2 separate regions of the Homo sapiens genome follow, and region 2 is linked to region 1. The links are contacts of gene promoters, found by promoter capture Hi-C in blood cells and fetal thymus (Javierre and others, 2016). All regions are on one chromosome and are shown on one strand. The core of a region is centred on a gene start or on the middle of the fragment in contact, and the rest is flanking DNA. Distances in the headings are between cores, read along the strand shown.

Region 1 (4,682 bases), core at 1,121-3,620:
TTTCTTTCCCTTCTGAGGGGGTGTGTTATGTAATTAACACCAGCTGCTATAGAAATCCCAAAATCTCAGTAGTGTAGTATAGTAAAGGCTGGTTTCCCATCCTCATCAAGTCCGATGGGGTCAGGCAGCTCTCCCTAAACAGTGACTAGACCATGTTCTTCACTCTCATCAAATGCATGACCTCCAAAGACGAGGAGAGGAGAGCATGGATGATGACTGTGTTATCCTCCAGAAAAATAAAACCAACAGAAGATGTATATGTCTTCTACGGAACCAATAAAACATTGGCTTCTGTTGAAGCCAGTGTTTCAGTTTCAGTCTGAAAGCAGGAAAAAGACCAATGTCACAGCTCAGCAGTGAGACAGGAGGGTTTCCCTCTTACCCAGGCTCATTTTTTCTATCTAGGTCTTCAACGAATTGGATGAGGCCTGCCCTCATTGGGGAGGGCAATCTTCTCTACTCAGTCTACTGATTCAAATGTCAATCTCATCCAGAAACACCCTCACAGACACACCCAGGATAATGCTCGAACAAATATCTGGGTGCCTTGTGGCCCAGTCAAGGTAACACATAAAACTAACCAAGACAATGACACAGAGGTTGTGTGGCCAGGCTTGGTCACCTCCTATCACCTACCATGTCAAACCCAATGACATGGCCCCATTCTGGCTCCAAGAGAGGCCACGAAATAGTCATAATGAGTGCACAGGAATTGGAAGATGAGCTGGCATTTGGAAACACACAGCATGGCCCCCTCTTGCTAGTTAGGTAAAAACTGTTTGCTCTTCTCCACTGACTTGCTCAGGAGATTCTGGATCCAACCTTAGAGATCTGTATGAATTTTTGTAAATTCTGAGTAGCTCTGTATAATTACATAAGGTAATACATTCTTTTCCCCCTTAAGACACCAAAGTAATAGGCAGTTAGGATACTCTCCTTTTGCAAATATCTTGAGCAGAGGTATGCCCATCATCTTTGGGTGTAGACTCAGTAGGGTGGGAGAGACCCATAGAGTGGCCAAGCTGACCAAGGCTACCCCACACACAGGAACCAGCGGAGGTGGAAGAGCTGGTATGCAGCACTGTGACAGCCATGCTCCTGCTGACCAGGAGGCCCTGTGCTCTCCACCTCAGCAAGGACCCTTTGCTCCTTCTGATGGATGCCTCTCCTGCCTGCCACACTGTGGCACCCCATGATACCCAGAATGGTGATCTCACAGCCCCTGGGCACTGAGTTCTGCTCTAACTTCCTGTTCGTCTGCACACAGCAGTCACATTGAGGTTTAGTTTTCTCAAAACTAAAAAGGTGTATTGGCCAGAGGAGGCTAAATGGAACCCCAGAGCCTAGAGGGATGCCCAGGTAACCCTGCCCCTGCACAGGCCGGCCCCTCCTGCAAACAAGGAGGATACTACATCAGACTAGGATGTCTCGATAGCAGGACACAGGTCTGCCAGGCACACAGGGAGGGCTCTACCAAGAAAGAGGGCAACCAGGCTTTACAGGAGTCACGGGCCCTTAACCTGGGGTCTGTAGACAGGTTCAGGCCTCTGCTCTCCCTCCCCACTTAACACTTGTCTTCTCTGCTAAGCCATGAGCTCCAGGTTAGCAAGCACTGGGCCTGTTTTTCTTGCCAGTATATTCCCACTGTATCCTGGCTCCTGGTACCAGCTCCATAAATAATTGTTGACTGAGCACTAGCCTAATAGTTCACTTGCTTAAAACTGCTTATTAAGTCCCTTCTGCGTGGTAGGCATTGTATTAGGTGCTGGGGATACAACATAAATAAAACAGATATAGTCTCTGCCTTTATGCAGCTTACAAAGGTGTTTGTTCACACCAGAGAGCAGAACTTGATAACTAAACTGTAATAAAAGTTGAAGCAACATCAAGCAACATAGGCCAGTTGAAAAAGTAAATTACCCACTGACCCGCAGGTAATTAACTAGTAATTTTATTGCCATCCCCAAAATGAAGCAAGCAAGAGGGAATGACAATGGCAGGAAGATTGAATCTGGTTACACGTAAGGAAACAGGAGATTTGGGACAGATGCAAGTGCTCTCTTGTGTGGCTTTGGAGCAAGTCTGGCTAATACAGAGCCACCTGTGCAGGCTGGATGCACCCTGGTGCTCTAAACAGGAATGTCAAGATGAAAGGCTTTAAGACATCCTGTCCCCAGCCTCCCATCCACAAACATTCAGCAGTTATTTGAAAGGATCCCAGAGTGACAATCTCTGGTAGACGGAACAGAGGAGACAAAAAGCACACCATCCCTCCCACCCGCCTTGCCCGGCTCACCAGGATACGCCAAAGCAGCTTCACTCTGTAAACACCAGCCAAAGTCACAAGGTCCGGGAGATGTTGCCCTGTTTGTTCAGGAGACACTGGGCATGCGCACTCCCCCTTGGCTCCTCCCCTACTCGCCAACTTCACAGTGTGACTCTGGTCACAGGGATGGGACCAGATCAATAGACTTTGTCACTCCAATGCCCCAGCTTCTTTGGTGGCACCTAGGTCACCTGAGGGGTTTGTTTCAGGAAAGCACATTAATTTAGAAGGAGAATAATGTGGGAAGAGGCCGCAGTTAGAGAGATGTGTCTAAGCGCCTGGCCTGTGCTCTCTCCAAATTGCCCTCATTCCCAAGCAGGCCCCTGAGCCTGAGTTTGCCCTCCGAGGCTCAGTCAAAAATATTGATGTGCAGGCAGGTTACTGAGCTTTTGACAGGGTTTTTTTCACCAATGGCATCATTTGAAAAATGGCAAATATCCAAGTAGGAATGTGTTCCATTAGTGTGTTTCTGACATAAGAAAACTAACACCAGCTTGACAAGAATTTGAGAAATTTAATTTCTATCACTACAAAGCACCAGAATCCTGTTTGAGAGGGTGCTGATGGGTTTATGAGTGTCTTATCGAGTTCAAGTCAGTGTGAGAAATAGCGCCTGAGATTAAGGGAAACCTGTAATAGGAACTAAAACCCAGTTCTCCAACAACTGAAATGTTATGGCCTCCTGCTTTCAGGAAGGGTGTTTGTTAGCCTGCTTATGGTAAGCCCATTAATTCCCTGTGACTGCCTCTTCTCTCCAAGCTCCAAGACTCAGGGAGAAAGGTGAGGACGGGTGTTTGTGGCATCTCATGTCTGGAAAACCAAGGGTATGCTACTGCACTGGTTTGAAGGGCCTAGAGAGATAGGTCATGGCCTTGAGCCCACCTACTGTGTGCCATGCCTTGTGCTAGGCACCAGAGTGCCAGACAGCCCTGCCCAGAATCCCACTGTGGGACACGCAGCCTAGCTAGTGGTCCAGGAAGCTCTGTCTTGTGCCAACCAACCCACACTGACTTGGGCCATCACTGCAGTGTGACCCATTTGTTTTCATCCCAGGGGGATATCATGGGAAGCCCTGAGCTTTGAGAACCCCCCAACTCCCTTGCCCTCCTCAGATTCCCTACTTGCAGAGCAGCTCTCCAATGTCAGTTCTCATAGCAGGGCGTCAGTCCCTCTGTGGGCACAGACTTCTGCCCAGTAGTGCCAGACAAGCTCCCTGATGGGCTGCTCTGACCCCCAACCCAGCCCTCTCTTTCCAAAGACACCAGCCTCAGTGTGTAGACACATTCTCACCCCAGACACAGCGTCTGGCTGAGCCCTCTCTCACTGACCCCTGATCACACTCTGAGTGCTGGGCATATCACGTTTGGTCGTCCAGGGACCTTGGAAACCTTCCCACATAGTGGCTAATGAGCCCACAGATGGTCAGTCAACACAGGGGCATTGGAGCCACAGCCAGGAGCCAGAAGGACCACTCGTTGCCCCCTAGAGGGCTGCATGTGGCATCTTCATCTTCCTCTCATGTGGCCTGGCTCCCCACCAGAGCAGAGACCAGGCCTGGGGCTTAACTGGTCCACAGCCCTGCAGATGTGGCCAGCGCAGGTGAGGTTCAGGAGATGTGTGATCACTGAACACAGAAGGCCATCTCCACAAATTCCAGACCCTCGCCATCAGGATGTGAGGCTCAACAGGATGATGGGGTTTGCTTAGTTGGGCCACATCTCCTCCCTGTGAAAGCTGCCCCCATCACTCTCCAGAGAAGGCGCAGGGTGGAGGCAAGACTGTAGTAGCCTAAATCAGGTTTCAGTTCTGACGATTCTTACCGTCTTCACTGTATGACTGCGGCTATCTGCCCTGATCACGCACGATGCCCAGGCTTCCCGATGCAGTTGTGATGCAGATAGGGGGAAGGGAGGGGGCCCTCTCTGCATCCCTATGATGGTCATAGGGTGTCAATCTGCCCAATATACCCTTTCCATTAGCCATTTTACCCCAGCCCAAACACCTAGTCCCTGCCCCTGGAGGTGGCCACACGGCCCAGGCCTGATGGGCCAATCAGTCCCACACCTGCACAATACTCAGTCCTCTTGCCCTCAGTGTTTGCTTCAGGGAAGAACACAGGAGCTGTATGTGGCCAATCAGAGCTCCCCCATGCTTTTTCCAGGGCTCTCAGGCAAGATTTGTTCCCTTCCTCTGGGATCCCACATACAGAAACAATGTGAGTGTGGGGCCACCAATGGACATCTTGCAACCAAGTAGAGAATGCCACTGTCGAAGGCCCTGGATGCCTGCAACCTCTTCCACCTCCCTTAGATTTCCCATTGTGGGAACTAAACCACCTTTTTCCCCCTAAGCTATT
Region 2 (4,682 bases), core at 1,412-3,911, 2.9 Mb before region 1:
AAAACAAAACTTGCCTTGAAAGCACCAGCCATATTCTGAGATCATAGTTAAATTTGAAAGATGTAAGCCTCCTCCCAAGACTCCAGTTGCTATGCTCAGAGAAAAAGTGGGAATGGGACACTAGTTTTTTTCTATTATTTTCGGTATAACAAAACAACATATATGGATATCAAAAGAAAAAATCCTGCTAAAATCTTAACAGGTCAAATCACTTTCAAACTTCTATATTGTACCAGTCTATAAAGTACATATATGCTATAGGAAGAGATGCGGGGGGGGGTCCCAAAAAATTCAAGAGCAAAACCTAGTTACAAAATGTTATGTTAATAACTAGCTTCCAAAAGTGAATTACAATTATAGTATTGCACACACAGAACTGACTTAATAAAGAACTCTTTCTTGCAAAATATCATCTCAACCAAGGTAGGATACAGTAAAAGGAGGAAGAAAAGTCACTGAAAACACCACTCTACTAGAACTGGGCCAAAAACATCCCCCCTAGCTGCCCAAGGCAAAAAAAAAAAAAAAAAAAATCAAAACTAAATAAAGAGCCCAGCCAGGCACGGTGGCTCACACCTGTAATCCCAGCACTTTGGGAGGCCATAGCGGGCAGATCACTTGAGGTCAGAAGTTCGAGACCAGCCTGGCCAACGAGGTGAAACTCCATCTCTATTAAAAATTCAAAAAATGAGCTGGACGTGGTGGTGGGTGCCTGTAATCCCAGCTACTCAGGAGGCTGAGGCAGGAGAATCGCTTGAAGCCGGGAGGCAGAATTGCAGTGAGTCAAGATCGCGTCACTGAACCCCAGCCTGGGCGACAGAGAGAGACACTCTCAAATAAATAGCCCAGAACTAGCTGATTATTTATGAAAAACCTAAGAACTCTGTAATTACCCCATCTTTCCAGGTTGGAAAACAACAAAGCTGTTAGAATATTAAGGTGGCCTATGAGATTAGTCCTAACAACAATCTAGTTTTTAACAATTCTTCCAAAAGAGTTCTAAATCTTTACCTCCCATTTAGTAAACAAACTTCTCAGATTCAGACTTCTGATTAGAGGTAAAGGGTATGTGACAACACCAATGAACTGCAAATTCCAATGACTATTATTCTATTAACTTCAGAAGTGGAAAAACAAGGTATGTTAAGAGTTCAAGACCAGCCTGGCGAACATGGTGAAACACCGTCTCTACTAAAAATACAAAAATTAGCCGGGTATGGTGGTGGGTGCCTGTAATCCCAGCTACTTGGGAGGCTGAGGCAGGAGAATTGCTTCAACCCGGGAGGCGGAGGTTGCAGTGAGCCAAGATTGCGCCACTGGACTCCAGATTGGGCGACAGAGCTAGAACCCAGTGGCGGGGGGATGCCATGGGTCAGCTTCCAAGGGTCCTTCATCATCTGTTTTGATGGGAAAGCACCCTATATTGCATCCCAGCTTCCTTGGGCCTTTTCTTTTCTCTAGAATATTCTTTTCTCTAGAATATCCAGGTATTCTTTTCTCTAGAATATCCAGACTGGTGGAGACAAGAATCATTCCTCAGGCTACTAGTATCCCTTATAAAAGGGAATCTTACTCAATGTCTTTGACCCTATGAGAAGACGGGCAAATCATAGGCTATAAGCTGCTTGTAACATTTGAAGAAATAAACTATTTGCCTTCTTTGTGGTTAGTGTACAGAGAGACAGAGAGACAGACAGACAGATACAAGGAATATAGATCGTCTAGAAGTAAAAACAGGGAAGACTGATAAACCAAGAGAATAGACACCTATATCCTCAAGCGTACTCAAGTCAGCTCTGAAATTCACCCAGATGTGTGGCTCATTGCCTAGACCAACATATACATCTGGTAATAATAAACACTGATATGTCATAAACAAAAAGAGTTTCTTTAACTCTACAAAGTACTAGTAATATTAAAATTTACATAAAGACAAAGAATATATATGAAATAGATTTTTTTAGATGGTATTTCAACTTAAGTAACTGTATTAAGAAATGAAAAACTGGTATTTTACTGCCTAGTTTTCAAAACACTAAAATCTTTAATTTGACCAAGTTACAAATCTGTTTTCAGTAGAGGGAGAAAACACACTGCCTCCGTTCAATGCAAAGGACAAAAAAGATCATCACTGCAAATCATAATGTTTGGGTTCATGATGAAAACAGGAAACAGACAGGCTGCCCAGGTATAATTATGGTTGTAATCTAATGTGCCTTCAGGTTCAGCCAAGAATTAAAACCCAGTGAAGAGGGTAAGCAGAATTTACTTGCCTCTACTTTGCTGCAGAATGCAACTTTTAATAATACTCCCAGCAACATGTTACATAACCAACAGTAAACAACAATCTGATTCAAACCTCATTAGTAACAACATTCTGCCACTGTCTCCCACTGAAATTAATAGCTGACTTTGCCAGAGGGGAAAGAAATCCAACACATTATCAATCTACCCATTTCTGTGGCGCCTACCACAGTGAACCAGACACGCAGATAATACTACCAGATCTGTACAGAACCTACGAAAATATTTTATTCTTTTTTTCCAGTTTGCTGCTCTCTTCCTCCTTTTAACTAGACCATATCATGTGGATGCCTTTAAAACCTGAGAGTAAAGTCAGTTGAGAAGGTTAATCTAACTTTTCTTGCTTATTTCAGCTATGATCTGAAAGGAATGGAAGCACAAAATGATGAATAAGGTATTTTTAACAAAGATACATGGGTAAATTAACAGCAGTAATGTAAAAAAGACTGAGGGAGCAACAATGTGGAAAGGGAAGGAAAGGAAGCTGTATAGGAACAATCACACAAATAATCATCAAAATTAAACTTTATAAATCTAAACATAGTATCTACAACCTTTATGAAGGTTAAGTTTTGTTAAATTGTCTAAGTTTTGCATTTTTACAATTTTCACTGTAGAGAAAAAAATATTAATAGTTACCAAAGGAATAAAAGACTAAAATAATTTGTTATACATCTGCAAATAGCTCCTTAAATTTGGAACACTAATTTCATAATGATATTTGGATCCATAAATGTGAAACTGTCACACTGAATGTAGGTACTGTTTTCCCCACAATGGATACTACTGCATTGGCATCTAGCAGAAATTGTAAGCTATTTGGAATGTTACTAAACCTACTGGGACTAAGGTTTTCAATCTTTTGTCTTTCAAATTAAAATTAAAAACTAATTCACTCTGGGCAATTCAGGTACTCTAAGGAAATTCAAGTACTCTAGTTTTAAATACGAATTTTCAAAAACGCAACCCAAGTACCCTTTCCTCTCAACTTCTGTGAGGCCAAGCCACGACCTCCACCTATTCAATCTTTGCTGCTAGATAACAACCCTTTTGGTAGTGCTAGGCAACAGGCATGATGTGACAAACCTAGACATCAAAACTTTTCCACAGAAAGATAAGGTAAACAAGATATACTTAGCGCCACACCCATTTAAATGCACAAGCAACCAAAATTGCTCCCTCCCCCCGCAACACCCCCCCCCCCCCCCCAAAGCTCCAGCTGGTCAGGAAACATTGTCTTTACAATCAAGATAAACATCTGGCTCAGGGTGTTCAGCCATTCCTCACCTACAGGCTTGCCTAAGCCCCATTCTCCAATGCCATCACCACCAGAACCGGAACATTCTGTTGGGAAGCCGGCAAACGTCCAAATACCCCAAGTATCCTCGCCCGAGTTCTGCAACCAAAAATCTGTTTTGGCTACTGAGCATGCTCAGACTTAAGACGGGCGCGCCACATGGGAGTTTTCAAAGCTTAGGCTCCAAACTCCACGTAGTAACAGCAGCTGAAAGGAGGAGAGGGGAAAAGGGGAGGGGAAGAGACTGGAATATTAATTTGAGCCCTGATATTGAAGTATAGGACCCGGCCAGCGGCTGAATATGGTGAAGGCAAAAAGACGCTGCTTTGGCATTCTCTTTGCAGCACAGAGAAGTTTACATGAAGTAGAAGAAATCCTTGCAGTGGTGAAAACTGACATGGCAAGTGGCAGAAACCAGGTCTAACTACCAGCTGATTGCAGTAGCCGGTCACAACTGCCCAGAGTGTAATTCCCACCGATAAGCGCGGATCCTTATCTTTGAAACACAAAGCGACGGCGGCACGGATTCATCAAGCCATTGGACAGCTTCGCAGTGCAGCAGCCCAGGCTGCCCGGCCGAGCACCGCAGTCCTATCAAGGGTGTGTATCCAGGGTGGTACATCCGATGAGTTAGGAAAGCAAACCGCTCCCCAGGACAGCGCGGGGTCAGGGGGTCCCCTCCAGGGCGTCCCAGACGCCTCCCTCCAAAGTCTGGGCGGTAACAGCGGGGCTGGGACGAGGGCCAGCCCCGGCCCCGCCTCAGGACGCCCCGGGCAGCCAGCGAGGCCTCCGCAGCCGCTGGGCCGCACCGTGTCCGCCAGCCGGGACCCCGGCAGGCCAGGACTCGGCCTACCTCCCGCCCGACAGGCCCTGGGTCGTTTCCGCTCCGTCCGCGGCCGAACGCCCCCGCCTCGGCCCGAGTCCGCCGGGGCAGAGCCTGCAGCCCCCAGTTCCCCTCGCCCGCGCGCGCCGGGGACCCTCACTCACTCGCGAGCCGGCTAGGCGCGCTCTCCCGACGCCGTCGCTGCGCTTCTCCTCGCTGCAACTTTATTAGCAGCTCGGCCGCGGGACACGCGCACGG

The links. Contacts are between HindIII fragments. The CHiCAGO score rates a contact against its expected background, and 5 or more counts as called.
Region 2: the fragment with the promoter of SMAD5-AS1 here is called in contact with the fragment with the promoter of FSTL4-AS1 in region 1 in 1 of 17 cell types (neutrophils); the score reaches 7.2 in neutrophils.

The regions. Positions count from the first base shown.
Region 1 is chr5:133,254,133-133,258,814 of GRCh38, reverse strand. It overlaps FSTL4-AS1 (FSTL4 antisense RNA 1), which reads right to left and starts at 2,370. Exons shown (of 2, transcript XR_007058939.1): 1 at 2,297-2,370. All of the region lies in intron 6 of FSTL4 (follistatin like 4), which reads left to right. The HindIII fragment of the contact is 11,288 bases long and covers 1-4,682 here.
Region 2 is chr5:136,132,869-136,137,550 of GRCh38, reverse strand. It overlaps SMAD5-AS1 (SMAD5 antisense RNA 1), which reads left to right and starts at 2,661. Exons shown (of 2, transcript NR_026763.1): 1 at 2,661-4,201. It overlaps SMAD5 (SMAD family member 5), which reads right to left. Exons shown (of 8, transcript NM_005903.7): 1 at 4,589-4,682. RefSeq lists a silencer at 4,353-4,682. The HindIII fragment of the contact is 4,393 bases long and covers 1-3,778 here.